3 separate regions of the Homo sapiens genome follow, and regions 1 and 3 are each linked to region 2. The links are contacts of gene promoters, found by promoter capture Hi-C in human tissues and cell types (Jung and others, 2019). All regions are on one chromosome and are shown on one strand. The core of a region is centred on a gene start or on the middle of the fragment in contact, and the rest is flanking DNA. Distances in the headings are between cores, read along the strand shown. Region 1 overlaps PRUNE2 (prune homolog 2 with BCH domain). Region 2 holds the start of FOXB2 (forkhead box B2). Region 3 has its middle 46 kb from the start of VPS13A.

Region 1 (2,853 bases), core at 311-2,810, 120 kb after region 2:
ACCCTTTAGGCAGTGATATGGGGACTATTTTGTCAACTAAGTAAACAGCTGATGGCTTTGGTATAACCAGTTTGTTTCTGTGTAACATTTATTTGGGCAGATATTAACATAATTTTGAGTTTGGTAAACTGGTCTGGGGAGCTCCTGTAAGCAATGGCTTGGTGATGGAGGCATTATTCCTCCAGGGAGGGGGTAGAGGGAACCTACCCCTCCGTGAATGTTACCTGAGCAGTGAGAAGAATGAGGGAAGAATACTTGGATCTGGATAAAGGCTGCAAAAGAGGAAACAATATCAGGGGACCAGAGAGAGGGGATGCAACGTTAGTTACTGATTTTTCTTGAACCTTGGGGATTATGGGAGAGTCCTGGAGTTTGAAGTCTTCTTGAAAGGAAACTGGGGAGGGCTGATGTATTCAGGAGGCAGCATTCCTATGGACGGTGATATGAACAGTGCCCTCTGAGTTTGTATAGTACACAACCTGCACAGTCATTCGTGGCTACCCTGTTAGGGGTCTCAAATTAGCGTACTCAAAATCTCTAGCGTTGTCCCAAATCCATTTCTTTCTGAGCCCTGTGGCTTTGGACTTTGGTTTCCAGGGAAAGGAAGTCTTTCTTCTTCAGAGCTCTTATGAGACTAGTGGGCTCTAGATCACCCTGGAAAATCAGACCCACAAAGTTTGGGTTAGAATAATCAAGCTGATAAACACAGCTTTGGTTTCTTAATCTGAAAAATGGAATAAGTGATGCCTACTTTGCATGTTTGTTGCAAAGCCAAAATGATGTATTCATAGCCCTTAGCACAGAACCTGGAACAATGGTGGGTCTTTCCACTTGCCTCCAAGCCCGTCCTCTTCTGTACTTCCTTGTCTTAGTGAATGGCATTGTGATTCATCCAGTTTCTCCAGCTGAAAACTTCCTTTTCCTTCATCTCTTCCCTAACCCACCCTATCCTTAAGTCACCCAGATGACCACAATGGCTGGCAAACTGCTTTCACCCTGCTTCCAGGGAGATCATTTTGAGAGCATCTTTCACACCTTTCCTACCCCTCCCTTAAAACCTCCTCATCACTTTCCATTGTTCTTAGGAGAATGGACACACTTTTCGTATGACCTGATCTGCTATCCAGCTTCTTTCTGGCTTTTCCTCCAGCTCTCCTTGGCTTAAATAATTCCTGCCTCTTAGGTTAGACAAAGAAAAGACTCTTCTAAGTGAGCCCCCTCACCTGCTTCTTGAGTCTAAGTCAGGTATTTTGGTAATTCTTTAGATCACTTATTTCCGCTTGTCATTATATCTCTATTGGGCATGTTTGTTCGATTAATGCCAGTTTGGTGAGAGTAGGGACCAGGGTCTGTATCATTTTGCTCACCATTGTATCTCCCGGTTCTGGTGCAGTACCTGATGCTCAAAGAGTGGTTTTAGAATTAATAAACCCTAAAGGCAAGAGTCCTGCACAAAGCATGACACTTTGTAGTGGCTCAATAAAAATAAATAAACGGAGGGCCAGGTTTAGATTTTTGGAGGTCTGAATCTGAAGAAAGGCTATTGTCAGGAGGCAGGAAGCCATATTTGTTTGCTAGAAGAAGGTGAAGGACACTAAAGTCAAGGAGCACCATATTGTACTTCATACACAGTAAGTACTTAATACAAAGTGTTAAGACAAAATAAAAATCTAATTTTTATGCATGACTGCTTGGGATCTATAAATATTGGTTGAACTAAAGCATGAATGGAGAGAGGCAGAGGAGAGGAATGGGGCACTAAAAGCCTCTGCAAAACTGCATTGGGTAGATCAGCCAACAGTGGAACCATTGGAACCGTAGGTTCTCCTCCATGTGGCTCAAAGACTAGAAGTTGGGCTCCCCCAAGGCCAACCACTGTACCAAGTCAGCCCAGCCTAGTCTCTTGCTGCCCCTTGACCAGTGCTAATATCATGAGAGAGATTGGCAGGGAAGCTGTTCAGAGTCCTTGAGAGAAAAGATTAGGCATTCCAGACTTCCTGTCCAGCCCTGGCACTGCAGACCTCATGTGTGGGGTAAACCCATGCATGATCCTGAGTCAGACCTCTCGTCCAACTAGTGGGACTGTTTGTGGTGGAGCGTGATCATGGTCTTCCACTTCATCTAACTCTCCTGGATGTGACCAGACCTTCCCAGGTTATTTGTTTTAGCCTGTAATGCCAGAGTCTTTTTGAACTGATGATGTCTAGGAAAATTGCATATCTTTGGCTCCATGCATTTGATATTTCTTGCTTTGGCTTCCCAGAAGCTTAAAGCTATGTTGGTGCTTCATTTTCTTAGCCTAGGATTTCCGAACTAAGGTTTTTTTTGTTTTGTTTTTTTAATTGTTACTACTTAGTTTTAATCTCATTATAGTTGTTTTAATTTTTTTACTTTAATGTATATGCACTTTTATTATAAGTAGGTTATCCTTTTGGTTACTGTCAAGAATAAATAAATACATCTTATAATAATATATATGATCTTGAGTATATATTGGTGACCAGTCTGGCCTAATTCAGGGTTCATCTACTCAAATTTGAGAATTAGCTTTTTGTAGTAATGGAGAATATAGTGTGGGACTTCAGAATAAGTAGCTGAAAGGAAACATCAACACAGTCCAAAGATTGTCTGTGTTCCCATCCTTGATGATTGCTGACCTCCCTGAGAGCAGCAATAGCCACACTTCCTTATATCTGAGCCCATAAATGGGGAACTGTGAGGCAGTCCCTGGCAGAGGCTGCCTGCCCTAAATCAGATCCTGGGAGATTTTCCTAGAGTATGAGTTGTGGATTTAGGAGACCCTTAGAAGGACTTTTGTCCTCCTTCCCACTTCTTGCCCCCTAAAGGCAGTAC
Region 2 (2,700 bases), core at 165-2,664:
AGACTCGCCAGCTCTGCCCGGCCTGACCAGGGCGCCCTCTCCCCGTCGGGTGGTTTGGGCGGTTCCGGGCCCGGCGTCTCTCACCCCGCTGGTCTCCCCACGCCCGCCGGGTCCCCTAGGAGTGCACTAGCACCGAGTGCAAGGAGCCGCCCTTGCTTTCGGCCGAGGTAGGGGCTGTGGGCTCCAGCAGAGAGGCAACGGGCGAGGCCGCGGCCGCGGAGCACACGGTGGATGGCGCCGGAGGCTGCTGCGAAGCCGCGGGGACAGTGAGCCCCGGCTGCAGCGCGGACACGGGCGGCAGCGCAGGCGTGGGCTTGATGGGCACCGGCATGGCAGGCAGGCTCTGGCTTGCCGAGTGGCACAGGGACTTGACCGGGACCCCGAAGGCCCCATACTCCGGGCCTACAGGGACTCCGGCTGCGGCTGCGGCGGCCGCGGCGGCGGCCACCGAATCCATGACGCCAACGTGCGGCCACACGGAGCTGACGACGTTGCCAAGCTGGCCGGGCACGGGGTAGCCCAGGTGGTGCATGACGGACGCCAAGGGCAGCCCTCCAGCCTGCAGCACGCCCTTGTAGTCCCGGCCAATAATGTTCTCAATGGCAAAGGGGTGCTTGAAGCCTGACGTGGACGCCGCGGCCGCGGCGGCAGCGGCGGCGGCCGAGCCCAGCCCGTAGGGTGGGAACTGAGACAGGCGTCCCACGCTGCCCACCGCGGCTGCCGCGGCCGCCGCCGCCGCCGCCGCCACGGCCGCCGCCTCCTGCATCTTGCCGGGGTGAGACGGCTGCTGAGGCTGCGACTGCTGGGGCGGTTGCTGCGGGGGCTGTGACGGGAGGTGCGGAGGCGGCTGCGGAGCAGTAGGCGGTTGCTGATGGAAATAGTGTACCATGTGCGGCGGCGGCGGGGGCGGCGGCGGCGGCGGCTGGGGTGGGTGGTGGTGATGGTGGTGGTGTGCGGCAGCGTGGTGATGATGGTGGTGGTGGGGGTGGTGGTGGTGATGGGGGTGAAGGTGCCCTCCCGGACCGGCGCCCGGCGCGCTCTTGGTGCTTCCCGCGTGCAAGTGAGTATGGTCGGCGCGCAGCACCTTGAAGCGCTTGCGACGCCGCAGGAAGCTGCCGTTCTCGAACATGTCCCCGCAGTCGGGGTGCAGCGCCCAGAAGCTACCCTTGCCAGGCTGGTCGGGCCTCCGCGGAATCTTGATGAAGCAGTCGTTGAAGGAGAGGTTGTGGCGCAGGCTGTTCTGCCAGCGCTGTGTGTGCTCGCGGTAGTAGGGGAAGCGCTCCATGATGAACTTGTAGATGTCGCTCAGCGGCAGCATCTTCTCGGCCGAGTGCTGGATTGCCATGGCGGTCAGCGAGATGTAAGAGTAGGGCGGTTTTTGGTCGCTGTACGAGCTCTTCCCCGGCCGCGGCATCGCCCCCGGCTCCTCCACCGCCCTCCGGCCCGCACTGGACCACAGAATCTCTCCGCACTCCGTTCCTGGGGCCTGGCTGCCCCCACTAATTCCCACTCGGCCCCTCCAGTCCCGCCACTTTGCCCTCTCGCCCTCCAGGCCCTCTCTGCTTCTCTCTCCTGCCTTCTCCGAATTGCCTGGTGTCTCCGACCTTGGCCTTTCGGGCCTACTCAGCTCTCGGAAGCTGGCAACTTCTGGCCCCGACGGTTGCCGACTGGCGCGCACAGTCGCGGGCGGAGTGCACCAGGTTTACCGCCGCCTTCTCTGCGTCTTCCCCCGGGTGGCCAAAGACTGAGTGCTGGAGCTGGCTGCAGAGGAGAGTGGCAAGGGGCCGTGTTTCCTCCCGGCCTCTTTGCTTTTTCTAGGTCCGAGGGAAACCCAGACCAAGATGGCTGGGAGGAAGGTCTGGGCAGTAGAGACTCTGGCCCTTTAAATCTGAGTTTGCGCCTGCTGTCCTGGAGGCCAGTGACAGCAGGACTTCCAGTGCCCTGGACGCAGGCCCCTGGCCAGGCACTTAGCCAGACCGCGCTGGAGTTCTCCTTTTCCTGGAGTGAAAAATCAGGGTAAGGAGAGAGAAGATTGGCTTCTAGGGCGCCTCTCTTTTCTCCGAGGCTCGCAGCGTCGCCGGGGTTAGAAGAGACGCGCAGCCCTAGGCTGTCGCTGAGGAGAAAAAACTTTGGTGGTTTCTGAAGCGGCAGCGCCCGCAGGTTCTGCTGAGGAGTGTGGGGCGCAGGACTCTGGGAGCGAGCGGCGGGCTGGAGAGGGCGTCTGCGAATGCTGGGTGAGTGCTGGCCGGGGAGGCTCAGCCGTCCGCGCCGCAGCTGCCGCCTTTCTCCCGGGCTTGTCTTGAGGAGGAGAGGCGACGGCAGTGGCAGCGACGCGCTCTCCTGGCTGCGTTTTGTAATGGTCCCCGAGACGCCGAGACCCCCGCAGCTAGCGCTTCGAGACTATCACATGACCGAGGCTGAGGGACTCAGCCGCCGCCGCCGCGTCTGTAGCTGAAGAAGGGGCAAGAAGGCGCCGTGCCTCGCCCCCGCCCCCTTTTCCACCTCGTTTCGGGCGCTCTCCACCCATCGCGTTCACCACTCGCTCGGCAGCCCCCAGCCACCTCCCGGTGCGGCGGGTGGCGCAGGCTGTTCGCCGGGAGGGGGCACAGCTCCGGGTGCATTTCCCGCAGCTGCGCCCCACCCGGGCCACCAAGCACGGTGGAGGGGGAACAGGACACTGCCTTCTTGCTTCTCTTCTCT
Region 3 (2,700 bases), core at 179-2,678, 110 kb before region 2:
CTTACAATTATGGTGGAAGGTGAAAGGGAAGCAGACACCTTCTTCACAAAGTGGCAGGAGAGAGAGAGAGCGAGGGAGGAAGTGTTACACTTTTAAACCATCAGATCTCATGAGAACCCACTCACTATCATGAGAACAGCATGTGGAAACTGCCCCATGATCCAATCACTTCCCACCAGGTCCCTCTTTAACATGTGGGGATTACAATTCAAGATGAGATTTGGGTGGGGACACAGAGCCAAACCATATCACAGACATTTTCCAGAACTTTAATTTTCCTACTAACCATATGATTTAGTAAACAATGCGTGTTACGGATTAAATAATTGAGCTCTTAACACATTTCTTTCCACCAAACAAAAATCTCAATTTCAATCAGTAAATCTGCCAGGCAGGTGGAAAAATCTTGTTATTCATGTTGATGGGATCAACACTTATGGAATATATCTCCAAACCTCAGTGGCCTATTCACTCACTTGAAAGGACCACACACCACTGGCCATTGGTCATAGAACATTTTTCCTGCCTGGCATATTTTCTTCCTTTCACAACTCAGCTTAAATGTCCTTCCCTCAGAGAAACCTTGCCTGACCTTTACCTATTCCCAAGCCTAACATACATTGTTCCTGCTAGACTCTGTCAAAGTACTTTGCTCTTTCCTTAATAGCATTGAACGTAACTGGTAATCATACACGTATCTGTTTAGCACAATGTCTGAAACGTGTTAGACACACAATAAAGACGTGAATGTATAAAACATGAATTTTTTTGGGTTCTAACATTGTACAATTTTATGAAATGTGAAATTTCAAGGAAGCTATAGATATTTTCATATCTCATAATTCATGATGTTTCTATAAACACTGCAACAAAAACATACCTGTCTGGACAAAACTCGGCTTTCCTTATTCATTTCCACCTATGTTCTTGGGAAAACAAAATATCTTCTACATCCCGGACTCTTATCCTACTGACTCCACAGCAAGTTTTCTCCATTTTGAACTTTCCATAAGTCTTACCTTATTACTCAGATTGAAGAAAGAGTAAGAGAAACCAATTAATATATCCAGAGCTCTGCTCCAGTGTGTAGGTACACGTTAGATGTCTTTTTTATTTTTATCATTACAACAGACTTTATGACTGCAATAAAAATGTGAGTAGATTCTTCAAAGATAAACATCTGAAAGAGAGAGGGGGGTTACATTCTAATAGCCTGTGGCTGCTGTCAGAAATAATTTAATGCTTAGTGCTTCGTCGGCTGACCCAAGTCCTTTGAAGAAGTGAAGCATGCTACTTACACCATCGTGGCTGCCCAGAATCCACTTATTTATGTGAGGTGCTCTGTAGTGCTGCTCAATGAAGGCAAGAAGCCTGAACTTGGTAATTGAGAATGAATGTCAAGTAGTGTCAAGACGCCTCAATTCATCAGGCTGATAACTCCTTCTGTGATTGCATTTCCATTTTTACAGCTGCTTCAGTGGCCAAGTTTGCCAGTCTTGTTTGGGAAAGTATATATATTACAGAACTCTTGGCACTGCCTGAGAAGAAGTTAGTATTTTTGATTCATTTCTAAGAGTTGTGGAATTTTCCAACTATTATAGAGGAAAATTTTATACAATTTATAAAGAGGTAGAAAGAAAGGAAGGGACATCTTTTAAAAGACAAGAAATAAGAGGAAGACAGCACTTAACTTATCTTTGCACTATTATTCTAGTAATGACAAATTTTAAGTTATTCACATTGGTGATATGTTTCTTTGGGAGGAAGAAACTTTTTTAAATGATGTGAAAATATACAAAGGACTAAACAATGGTGAGGAATAAATTAAATTACTAAAATGTTTTGCAACTATAGCTGCTTAAATTTAATAACATATACATTGTCCTTAGCACAGAGTCGAACCCAGGGATCAGTAACTTTTTCTGTAAAGAGCCAGATAGTAAATTATTTAAGGCTTTGCAGCCCAGATGGTTTCTGTTAAAAGTACTTTACTTACTCTACTCTGGCATTGTGCAAAAGAAGCCATAGACTATGTATAATTGAATGAGTGTGGCTGTGTCCCAGCAAAGCTTTATATATGGATACTGAAATTTGAATTTTTAAATATTTTATGTGTCATGAGTATTACTTTTCTTTTGATTCATTTAACTATTTAAAACTGGAAAAATCTGATACAATTTGGATATTTGTCCCCACCCAAATCTCATGTTGAAATGTAGTCCCCAGTGTTGGAGGTGAAGCCTGGTGGGAGGTGATTGGATCATGGGGGCAGAACCTTCATGAATGGTGTAGCACCATTTCCCTAGTGCTGTTCTCATGATAGTGAGTGAAATCTTGAAAGATCTGGTTGTTTAAAAGTGTGTGGCATCTCTTCCTTTACTGTCTCTCTCTTGCTCCTTCTTCTGCCATGTGACATGCCTGCTCCCCTTTGCCTTCTGCCATTTTTATAAGCTTCTTGAGGCCTCCCGAGAAGCTGAACAGATGTCAGCCTCATGCTTCCTGTAAAACTTGCAGAACAATGAGCCAATTAAACCTCTTTTTAAAAATAAACTACCTGGTCTCAGGTATGTCTTTATAGCAATGCAGGAACAGCCTAATACAGAAAATTGATACTGAGAGTGGGGTATTGCCATAAAGATACCTGAAAATTTGGAAGCAGCTTTGGAACTGGGTAATGGGTAGAGGTTGGAAGTGTTTGAG

The links. The method cuts DNA at HindIII sites, captures the fragments that hold promoters and counts their contacts. A contact is called where the count stands out against the background at its distance.
Region 1: a contact is called between a fragment that was not itself captured here and the fragment with the promoter of FOXB2 in region 2, in 8 of the 25 tissues and cell types used here (bladder, dorsolateral prefrontal cortex, lymphoblastoid cells and 5 more).
Region 3: a contact is called between a fragment that was not itself captured here and the fragment with the promoter of FOXB2 in region 2, in 9 of the 25 tissues and cell types used here (H1 embryonic stem cells, adrenal gland, bladder and 6 more).

What each region holds. Positions count from the first base shown.
Region 1 is chr9:76,898,163-76,901,015 of GRCh38, reverse strand. All of the region lies in intron 1 of PRUNE2 (prune homolog 2 with BCH domain), which reads left to right. Among named protein-coding and RNA genes, the nearest start is that of PRUNE2, 6.5 kb to the left of the region's middle. RefSeq lists an enhancer at 2,466-2,853. The HindIII fragment of the contact is 7,777 bases long and covers 1-2,853 here.
Region 2 is chr9:77,018,369-77,021,068 of GRCh38, reverse strand. It overlaps FOXB2 (forkhead box B2), which reads right to left and starts at 1,414. Exons shown (of 1, transcript NM_001013735.1): 1 at 116-1,414. The coding sequence starts at 1,414. The coding sequence ends at 116. The HindIII fragment of the contact is 6,747 bases long and covers 1-2,700 here.
Region 3 is chr9:77,130,139-77,132,838 of GRCh38, reverse strand. No RefSeq gene overlaps it. Among named protein-coding and RNA genes, the nearest start is that of VPS13A, 46 kb to the left of the region's middle. The HindIII fragment of the contact is 3,942 bases long and covers 1-2,700 here.